2 separate regions of the Homo sapiens genome follow, and region 1 is linked to region 2. The links are contacts of gene promoters, found by promoter capture Hi-C in blood cells and fetal thymus (Javierre and others, 2016). All regions are on one chromosome and are shown on one strand. Each heading gives the region's core, a stretch centred on a gene start or on the middle of the fragment in contact. The rest is flanking DNA. Distances are from core to core; before and after follow the strand shown. Region 1 overlaps BAZ1B (bromodomain adjacent to zinc finger domain 1B). Region 2 holds the start of STX1A (syntaxin 1A).

Evidence for each region. Contacts are between HindIII fragments. The CHiCAGO score rates a contact against its expected background, and 5 or more counts as called.
Region 1: a contact is called between a fragment that was not itself captured here and the fragment with the promoter of STX1A in region 2, in 1 of 17 cell types (erythroblasts). The highest score is 5.8, in erythroblasts.

The regions. Positions count from the first base shown.
Region 1 is chr7:73,445,848-73,451,521 of GRCh38, forward strand. BAZ1B (bromodomain adjacent to zinc finger domain 1B) reads right to left here. Exons shown (of 20, transcript NM_032408.4): 14 at 5,000-5,147; 15 at 3,695-3,842; 16 at 1,417-1,532. Among named protein-coding and RNA genes, the nearest start is that of FZD9, 15 kb to the left of the region's middle. The HindIII fragment of the contact is 2,262 bases long and covers 1,369-3,630 here.
Region 2 is chr7:73,717,886-73,723,262 of GRCh38, forward strand. STX1A (syntaxin 1A) reads right to left here and starts at 1,784. Exons shown (of 10, transcript NM_004603.4): 1 at 1,717-1,784. The coding sequence starts at 1,746. RefSeq lists silencers at 1,180-1,259, 1,370-1,429, 1,440-1,639, 1,700-1,899. The HindIII fragment of the contact is 14,118 bases long and covers 1-5,377 here.

The sequences.
Region 1 (5,674 bases), core at 1,250-3,749, 270 kb before region 2:
AAGATACCCATCCCCCGCTCCGCCAAAAAAAATATGTTCCCAAACAAAGGTGTGCCCAAGTCACTGACTCTGACCAACAGAAGAGGATATTCCTGAATGCAGGACTGATGGGCCATTTGTTCACTTACCCTAGGATACCTGAAAAATCAGGCGTAGTGAACAAACAAAAAGAGCCCATACGTATGTGAGAGCTTAAGGTGTCCCACATCACACCTCTGAAGTATGGGGGGGAAAGTGGGAGGACAGGAGAAGACGGGCAAGCCCAAATCATTAGGTTTTGGCAGTCTCACTACAGTAAGAGACTAGTCATGCCAGGCATCCTCTCTCTCACTCCTTATACCAAGTATGACCATTCAGAGCTGCTATGATCTTGGGAACTGTACCACTGCTTCAAAAGCTCATTAGAATTTTGATCTGTGGTCTGTTTTCTACGAACCTGTAAAGAAAAGTGTATTGGCCGGGCATAGTGGCTTATGCCTGTAATCCCAGCACTTTGGGAGGCCAAGGCAGGCAGATCACTTGAGCTCAGGAGTTCGAGACCAGCCTGGCCAACATGGTGAAACTCCATCTCTACTAAAAATACAAAAATCAGCCAGGTGTGGTGGTGGGTGTCTGTATACTCGGGAGGCTGAGGCAGAGACTGAGGTAATCTGAGGTCATACCACTGCACTCCAGCCCAGGCGACAGTGAGACCATCTCAAAAAAAAAAAAAAAAAAAAAAAAGTGTATTTTGGAAAGAGGGAGGCTGCTAAAAGAAAGGCTAGACTGGAGGACATTAGCCACAAACACCAGACTCTCCAACACTCATGAGAAATGAACATGAGAGAATGAGAGTCAATGCGGTGAACACAAAAGATGATGCCTTTTTTCCTACTGGCATCTAGTGAGAACAGATCTGAATCTTCCTAACATCCTTCCACCTAAGCCTTCAAATAATCAGTCGTCTCTTTTCAAACCAGCAAAGCTATAACCCTGCACACTGCAGGGAGGAGAAAATCACTGTAACCAGACAGAAAAAGTCACTCTCTGAAAGCAGCGATAAAACAACAGCCAAAAGAACTGTCAGGAGATGGCAATGGGCCAAGATCTTCCTTCCCCATTGTCCCCATATGCCGAGGAGCTGAGAATCAGCAGCCTTGGCATAAATATACTTGGGACCATGAATTCTACTAAATCTTAGAGCAAGTGGGTTGATGTTACTGAGATCAAGCCACCTTCTCTCCCACCAGGCAGGAAGTTAAACGCCATCTTGGAAACCCATTTAAACCCATGGCAGCTAAGTTACGCCACAGTCACAACACAAGAGAAAAGGAATAGGGCAAGCCGGCCACACTACCTACTGCCAAGCCAGCCTTTCCAAGCGTTCCAAGCTTAGAAGACTGTGAAATCAACTACAAAGGCAGACAAAATACTTACATCGCAAACCAGCCACCTCATAATCTTCTTCCTCCTCCTCCTCTTCTTCCTCCTCCTCCTCTTCATCACTCTCATCATCTTCACTGTCCTCAGAAGCAGACTCTTCAGTATAGTTCCTGTGGGTAGAAAAAATAATGTAGGGAACACAGTTTTAGCCCAAAGTGGTCCTAAGAAGGGCTCAAATCCCACAGGGATCAGGAAACTTCTCTTCACAGACTACATATGTATAACGTATGATAATTCAGGGAGGGAACCTGAATGTAAGCCAGGAGAGTTTTTCATAAAAATGAAAAACCAAGTTTCAACAGCATGCCTCATGCCTCCTTCTGCCAGGCCACAGACAGTTTGGACAAGATACCAAAGGCAACAGAAATTAAGACCAAAATGCAATCCTACCCTTCCCCACACAAAGCAATACAAAACACTGTTTCTTTTGTCTCACAAAAAGAGCCAGATAATGTAATACATCAGTTACTAAAAGCTGTCCCCACCTCTGAGGTAGACTGAAAAGAATAAACAGAGCCCAGACAGGTGTGACTTCACCTTGATGGCCCCCTTCCAGGAGCTGAAACAGCTTGCAGATGACCATAATATCAAAGCAGTGGTAATCCCAGCTCGGAACAGCTGGTCCAAAGCCCCACCATTTCAGAGCAACATGTCTCATCTCTAAGTGCAGCTGGGATGGAGTGCAAAAGAACCTGCTAATACTGTTAAGGTGGGGTCAGGATCAAACAGCTCTGCCCCTTAGAAGGAAGCCCAGGCCGGGCACCGTGGCTCACGCCTGTAATCCCAGCACTTTGGGAGGCTGAGGCAGGCGGATCACCTAAGGTCGGGAGTTCGAGACTAGCCTGACCAACATGGAGAAACCCCATCTCTACTAAAAATACAAAATGAGCTGGGTGTGGTGGCGCATGCTTGTAGTCCTAGCTACTCGGGAGGCTGAGGCAGCAGAATCGCTTGAACCTGGGAGGTGGAAGTTACAGTGAGCCGAGATCGCGCCATCGTACTCCAGCCTGGGCAACAAGAGCGAAACTCCGTCTCAAAAAAGAAGCCCAAGCCAGAGTACCTATAAGCTGCACATTTTACAACCCCAAATTTCAGTGTGGAAAACAACAGTATTATCTTGGCAAGTACAAGGTGTCTCCTCTTTACAAGGCCCGGTATTTGGCCTTATTGAGATTCAAGTAAAAAAACAAAGCACCACCTCTACTCTCAGGGCATTCATAATCTCATGGGAGACAGACATGTATAAAACCAGAGACAAGATCCATGCACCAAAATACTACTTCAGAGAATGGAGGTTCAGCTGAACACAGAGGAGAAACCATGAAGCCTAAGGATGCAAGCACTTTTCAAAAGCGCAGTGAAATTTTAGCGAAGCCATGGGCAGTTTACCCACTGGGAATTCTGGGCAGAGAATGTTCCCAGCTGGGAGAAAGGCACAAGAGGCAAGGATGAACAACAAACGGTCTGTAACAAGTACACAAATATGGGATCTAAAGCTAATAAAAACCCAAGCTGGTATTGTGTAAGAGTCTCAGAAGTGAGGCCAGGAATTGGGATGTTATTCTAGAGGCAATGGGAAGACTAGAAGTTTGTGATCAGGAATGTGAGCAGATCTTTGCTTTGTGTACAGCATTCTGGTGTTGCAATAGTTGGGTGGATAAGAGGGGAGAAGACGTGATATAAGAAAGAGGAGTTGAGAAGCCACCAAAGGAGCCCAGGTGACAGATGTAGAAGGGACAAATGATAGCGGAGACCACGGAGAATGGAGAGCAAGAAACTGGATCATCAAACATCTGGGCATTGGATTGATATCATGGCAAATTAATGGGTTTGTAGGATGAGGGAGAGATGTTCATTTCCAAGTTGACACCCAAGTTCTACTCATGATAGGGAAGAAAACATTATGTATCGGTAAGGAAGGTAATGAGTGTGAGATTTTTAGCAGTGGGTGATAGCAGAAGTAATCATGAAGACACAGGAAGTGGGCAACAGGAGGCTAAAGGCAGAGAGAGAGATTTCATTACTTGAGAAGAAGGTATGATCAAGAAGACAGAGAATGTGGCTGGCAGTGAAAACTAGAAATGTCAACATTCAGCTAAAATTAGCTCAGAGTCCTTTGAGCTCCTATTGAAGTACTGTAAATGATCAGGCTCTGTACCCAAAAGATGAACTTAAAGCTCCTTAGATTCATTCTGTTTGAATAACTCAAGCTTAATTATAACAGCTATTCATATTTATTCATTCAATTATTTTTAAAAGAAAAGATTCTCACCTGCCACGGGAGTTGCGCCTGGCAGTAGCGGGCTGGCAAGCTGGGCACTGCCACTCACCATCTGGTACTTCATAGAGGGCCGGCCTCAGACAAAACAGGTGGAAGGCTTTATTACACTCATCACACAAGATCAATTTGTCATCCTCACCTGCAGAGAGATAAATGTGAATAGCATTGTTGGGAGCACAGCAGCAGTCAATGAGCTGTAAGGAAGAGGCAATCACCCTACAATTCAAGGCACACGAGGAGACATGTTCCATAGAATGCTACCCAGTTGTTGCTTTGTAAATGCAGGCATTTTCTAAAAAGAAATGAAGCATAACTTAGATTACAGATAATTTGGGAATCAGGTCTCCTAATTTATATCCCAAAACTTACCCATGGCTATGACAGAACAGTTAACAATTACTAAGAGGCACAAAAAACCCAAGTGAGAGTAGGAAATTTTGCTGCTTTTTCGACCTCCCCAAACGTTTCTCAACTTATGCCTGATGAGTGTTCTCTCTCTCTCTTTTTTTTTTTTGGAGACAGAGTCTTGCTCTGTCACCCAGGCTGGAGTGCAGTGGCGCGATCTCGGCTCACTGCAACCTCCGCCTCCCGGGTTCAAGTGATTCTCCTGCTTCAGCCTCCCAAAGTGCTGGGATTACAGGCGTGAGCCACCGCGCCCGGCCCCTGATGGGTTCCCTTAAACCATGTGGTTTCTTACATTTGAAAAAGTGTTGTGCTGAGTCAACTTAATATGGTAATCTCTCCTTCCAACCTTCATTCTAGAGCGATTGAACGCTTTACAGCAACTGAATGATTTTACGTAGATCTTTTCATCTCTAACCTAACTCAGAAAATAACTCTAGCCACTGAAAAGCCAATCAGCAAGGGGCTTCTAACCATGAAGTTCCTTTTGCACATATGAGACTGCATGCCACCCTCTGTACCCGGACTGCCTCCTGCTGAAAGCACATATCTTACTTCACAGATGACTAAAGTTCTGAGCCAATCAAAGGATTTAAAACTAAACTAACTAAAATAGTTACAAGGATTAACTAATTTTGTTTTCTGTAAAAAATCAGAAGATTGAAGAGATCAATTGCTTTTATGTTATGCTCTAAACCGAGGAACAAAGGGCCTGCTCTGATTCCCTGGCACGACATTTCAAAGACTGGCATGTTACAGACCTGCAGGAGAGTAAAATCTATACCACACTTATATTCTGTGTACACAAAATTCTTTTGGGTAGAAATGAAGATCTTGGGAATAGAAATCCTACTCCCTAATATACCCACATAAGCAAATTTGATTTAAATATACCTTTCTTTCGACAAACTTTGCACCTAGCATTTTCTGCGGACATATCCCACTTGATACAGGCATCAAGCATCCCAAGCAGCACGTGCATCCTGGAGAAAGTCTGAGCTTCCCGGATTGCTGTCTTCCATTTCTCCAGTGCAGATGCAACCTAAACAGAGACCAAACCAGGCCAGCATTACTACACTGACCAAAGACACTGAGAGAGAACTAGGAACAGGGGACAGTATGAGAGAATTCTGAGGACACTTGCCTCCTAGAACTTCACTAATCTAAACCATTTATTCTTATAAAAGGCTCCAAAGGGGGAAAAAAACTTGCCAAAGGTCACACAGAGATGCAGTGGAGTGGGTGGATGACTGGGGACAAGCATCTTCTAGGGAAATCCACCTAACAACTCAGTATAATTTAAAAATAGGATCACCTGTATGCTGTAAATGCTATAATGCAACAATTTTAGACAGCTAATAAAACTCCGATTTAAAAGATAATCAATAACCTACCACAACACCACCAATCCAATACCACAGCTGGATTTCAATGCCCTGCCCGAAGCAAAGAAGTCCTTGTGAAGTAATGAATCTCCTAAAGGAAAACAGCCAGTTATCCTGGAAGGTCATGGGCTTTAAAATACAGGTGCCAAGGAACAAAGATAGTTGATTCTGTTCCGAAGTGGGG
Region 2 (5,377 bases), core at 534-3,033:
AAAGCCCTTTTCTACCACCCCTCCCTCTAGCAGGCAAGCCGTGTTTCTTTTGTGCCTCAGTTTCCCCTTCAGCTAGGGGGATGAAGGCTGACATGCCAGAGGCTATTATCCTATGTAGGGGCCCATGGTTCCCCTGACCACTTGGTTCCCACACACACCCTCAGGTAACCTACCAGGCGCCTAAACATCAGCACATTACACCACACAGCCATCCGTCACCAGGAAAACACTCATTCTGACTCAACGGAGCTCAGGAAACTTGAGGGCAACCACAGGGGCCGCGGGGGAAGTGTTTAGAGCCCATATGCGACTTGAGGGACCATCTTCTTCCTTTGAAACCTCATGGGGTTTACACCAGGGGCTGGGCGCTCGGCCAGGAATAACAGGTCTGGAGGCAAAGTGGAGGCCGTGGTGCCAGAGCAAGTGGGGGACATGAAGGCAGGGGAGCCCAGGTCCCGGCTCCAGGATGCCCAGGAGGCAACCATGACATAATGGGGCAGACAGGCTCCAACTCAGGGAGCCTCTGGGTGGAGAAGACAAGCCGTGGGGTCAAATGCCCAAAGGACACTTGACATTTTCCATAGGAGGGGACCTTAGGGTTCTAGTTCCTAGCCCAGGGAGCGGGGTGGGGGGTGCTCCCAGGGATCAGCAGGCAGGGCTGCCAGCCAGGTGGCCAGCCAGGGGACCAGATGACCAGATGAGACTCAATCTAGTCTTGAGCCTTGATCCACCCCCCCTCCCCGACACACCCAGAGAGGCTTCATTTCCGTCGCTGTCCTCCACTCCCGGTCACCATCCTCCTGGGCTCCTCATCCCTAAGGGCAGAGGCCAGGGGAAGGGGACCCACGCAGGCTGCAGGGGTCTCTGGGCTGGGAGAAGGTGGGCTCTGACTCAGAACGTTTGTGCATCCTCCTACTCCCCCCAAACCCCGCCCCAGGAGCCACACCCCAGGGGTTTCCCAGATACAGGTAGAAAAATAGATCCAAGTCGCAAGGAACCCTGAAGGGTCTGGAAACGCCAGCCAGTGCTGCCCGAAAGCCCGAAGGTGGATAGGTGGACCGGGGGCGGGTGTGACGCCCCCCCCCCCATACCTGGGGCGGGCAGTGGATCCCTACTGCGACCAAGCAGAGGGGGAGCCACAGGTGATGGGAGCCACAGGTGACCAGGGTGGCCCGAGGAGGCCGCCACCACCCGACGATCAGGTTTCCGCAGCGCGCCCCGCAGCGGGGCCCCGCGCAGGGGACCGGCACCGGCCCACCGCGGTCCCCTCGTCTGTCTACACCAAGGAGGTTCCCACCGCGGTCCCCTCGTCTGTCTACACCGAGGGGGCACGGGAGGTCAGAGATGAGGGGCAGTGAGGGGGCCAGAGAAAGGGCCTGCTCTGCGGGAGGGGGAAGAGGTCCCGCCACCAAAACCCCATCATACCCTCCGAACCCCCCAAATCAAGAGGGCCCCGAAAAGTTTATCCAGGACCCCGGACTCCAGCCGACCGTCCACGTGTCAGCGCGGCCGAGCTCACGCGAGCCTGACCCCGAGTGGGTCCGAGGGGCGGAACCCGGAGGGGGGTCGAGGTCCCTGGCTCGCCCCGCTCCCTTCAGCCCTGGCTGGGGGCGCAGGAGCGGCCACCATCCTGGCCGCGGGAGCCGGGCGGGAAGTGTCCGGCGCGTTGGCGCTGGCGGCGGGCGGCGGGCGGCCGCGCGCTGGGGCCGGACTCACCGTGCGGAGCTCCTGGGTTCGGTCCTTCATGCTCCCGGGAGTGGCAGCGGCGCCGGCTGCAGCCGTGTGAGCCCCGCATGCGCGACGGCCGCCCCGCGGCTGCGCAGCGCCAGCCCGGCCCCGCCCCGGCCCCCGGGACCCCGGCCCCGCCCCACCCCGCCCGGGCCCCGCCCAGACCCCGCCCAGACCCCGCCCCACCCCGCACGAGCAGCCCCGTGGGGATCGAAGCCCTGGGGTCTCGTCCTGGACGTTCCGCACGCGTGATCGCTCCCGGGGATGGGTCCCCAGAGACCCTGCTGCCTCCTCTGCCCCAGCCCTGTCTCGTTTTTTATTTATTATTTTTGGAGACAGGGTCTCGCTCTGTCGCCCAGGCTGGAGTGCTGTGGTGCAATCATAGCTCACTGCAGCCTTGAGCTCCTGAGCTCAGGCAATCCTCCCGCCTCAGTCTCCTGGGTGGCTGGGACTAGAGTTGCTCGCCACTACTCCTGAATAATTTTCAAATATTTTGTAGAGACAGGGTCTTGCTATGTTACTCAGGCTGGTCTTGAACTCCTGTCCTCAAGCGATCCTCCCTCCTCCCAAAGCTCTGCGATTACAGGCGTGAGCCACCGTGCCTGGCTTCCAGCCTCTTCCCGACTTAGCAGCTCAGCATCCCTGTCCCAGAATCCGGTCCTCATCCTCAGATCCCTTCACTTCCCCAGAATTTGCTGAAGGTTGTAACTCCCTCCTTCATTTCATTACCTTGGGACCTCCTGCTCTCCCTTCTGTTCCCCAGCCAAAAACCTCCTGGAGAGTTCCAGTCTGGGAGCCTCCACCCTTCCCCCTTGCTCCCATCATCCAGTAGGGACTCAGGCACTGGCCTCTTCTTTCCCTAGGATTTCTCAGTTCACAGCTCTGATGCTGCGTGACCCACCCCTTTTTCCTGCAGGATGAAGGAACTCCTCTATCTTTTTATGTTTGTTTGTTTGTTTGATTATTTATTTATGAGATGGAGTTTCACTCTTGTCGCCCAGGCTGGAGTGCAGTGGCGCTATCTCAGCTCTGCCTCCTGGGTTCAAGCGAGTCTCCTGCCTCATCCTCCCAAGTAGCTGGGATTACAGGTGCCCACCACCACGCCCGGCTAATTTTTTGTATTTTTTAGTAGAGACAGGGTTTCACCATGTTGAGCAGGCTGGTCTCAAACTCTTGACCTCTTGATTCTCCCGCCTCGGCCTCCCAAAGTGCTGGGCTTATAGGCGTGAGCCACCGTGCCCGGCCTATTTTTTTTTTTTTTTTTTGAGACGGAGTCTCACTCTGTTGCCCAGTCTGGAGTGCAGTAGCACGATCTTGGCTCACTGCAACCTCCACCTCCCGAGTTCAAGCAATTCTCCTGCCTCAGCCTCCCAAGTAGCTTGAGATTACAGGCACCCACAACCACGCCTGGCTAATTTTTTTGTATTTTTAGTAGAGAAGGGGTTTCACCATGTTGTCCAGGCTGGTTTCGAACTCCTGACCTCAAGTGATCTGCCTGCCTCAGCCTCCCAAAGTGCTGGGATTACAGGTGTGAGCCACTGCACCCAGCCAGGAACTACTCTATCTTTGGGAAAGAGATTTGAGTTATGGCCCCCCTCTCCTCCTTTCCCTGCATCCCCAATCCTGAACTCTGGCTCTAGGCCTGAGGTTCTATTTTCTCTTTTTTCGTTTTTGTAAAGACGGGGTCTCCTCATGTTGCCCAGGCTGGTCTCAAAGTCCTAGCCTCAAGCGATCCTCCTGGCTTGGGCTTCCAAAGCACTGGGATTACACTTGGCCAATGTAGGTTCTATTTTCTATCTAGAAGCCTGGGGCCTGGCTTCCTCTAGGACTCATGGGAAAACCTGTGGAGGAGTGGGAGTGGGGAGGCCAGTCAACAGCAGATGTTCTTTTGAAGGTCCCTGCCAGCATCTTGTTGCAACAGTGGTCTCGCACACACCCCCATAAGCCCGCTGTGCCCTCCACCACCCCCAGCTGTCACTTCTGTGGCCCACACCCTCTTGACCTGAAGCCAAGCACATCCCTTCCCTTCCCCAGGACTGCCAAAGCATTGGAGCTCTGGAGCCAATCCAGCCCCCTGCTGCCCAGTGTGTCTGGGCCTGGCACCTCTCCCAGACTATGGGCACAGGTTAGCTGGCTGCCAGGCAAGCTAGGGACACTGTTCCAGCTTTCCCTTCTTCCCTGGAAAATCTGGCCCAAGACGGTCCGATGTGGCCTGGCAGAGGGAACAGCCACACCCTGTTCCAGTTGTCCCGGCTTCAACTTTGGGTGCCCTGCAGAATGGGCATTGATGGCGCCCCACTTCACAGAGGAAAAGTAAGGAGGTAAGTGCTAGAGGAACTTGCCCAGAGATGACAAGTGACAGGGGAGTCTGCCTGACTCCTGGTCTAGCCTGCAGGGTGAGTCAGTGGGGTGGGTCACAGGTATGCCCCCAGAGCCCAGTGTCTGGCCCCTTAGGGAGAGGGCAGGAAAGGGAGGCTCAGCTCCTGCCCTCTGAGAGCCCTGGTGTCACACCAAGCATCACTCATTGAGACGCATATTAAATAGTAGCATGAAAAATGAATAAAGAAATAAATGTGGCCAGGCACAGTGGCTCATGCCTGTAATCCAGCACTTTGGGAGGCCCAGGAGGGAGGATTGCTTGAGGCCAGGAGTTTAAGACCAGCCTGGACTCCATCTCTTAAAAAAAAAAAAAAAGTGTGCCTTTCACTTCTTTTTTTTGTTTGTTTGTTTTTTTAAGGCTGAGTCTCTTTCTGTCACCCAGGCTGCAGTGCAGTGGTGCAATCCAGGCTCACTACAACCTCCACCTCCCATGTTCAAGTGATTTTCCTGCCTCAGCTTCTTGAGCAGCTGGGATTACAGGCACCCGCCACCACGCCCAGCTAATTTTTGTATTTGTAGTAGAGATGGGGCGTCACCATGTTGGCCAGGCTGGTCTTGAACTCCTGACCTCAAATGATCTACCCGCCTTGGCCTCCCAAAGTGCTGGGATTACAGGTGTGAGGCACTGCACCCGGGCTTGCCCTTCTCTTTAAACTCTGTTTTTCTGCTAAGTCTTTTCCTCATTTAATCATTCATTCATTCATCAAACATTAAATGGGAAACCATGCTCTGGGGCCACTGTTCTGCACTCAAGATGTTCCCACTGCAGTGGGGGAGACAGACATGGTTTTGGTAGGTGAGGGAACCAGGGTGGCTTCCCAGAGGTGGTGACATTCGAACAGGGTGTTGCAGTGGGATTGCAGCAGGGAGTGGACAAAGGAAGGATGCTGGGGCAGGGGTGGGGGTGGGGAGCTCTCTAAAATGGAGCACTCTACCGGGAGCACCTCAGGAGCCTGCTGTGGCACTTGGGTGGACATAGGTGGGGGATGAGCCCAAGGAAGGGGGAGGCCTTGGATGCTAAACTATTGTGCAGAAAAGGGAAGCCCATCGAGGGCCAGATTATCATTCCTTTATTTATTTAGAGACCGAGTTTCACTCTTGTCATCCAGGCTGGAGTAAAATGGCACAATCTTGGCTCACTGCAACTTCCGCCTCCCGGGTTCAAGCAATTCTCCTGCCTCAGCCTCCCAGATAGCTGAGATTACAGGCATGTGCCACCACACCTGGCTAATTTTTTGTATTTTTAGTAGAGATGGAGTTTCTCCACCTT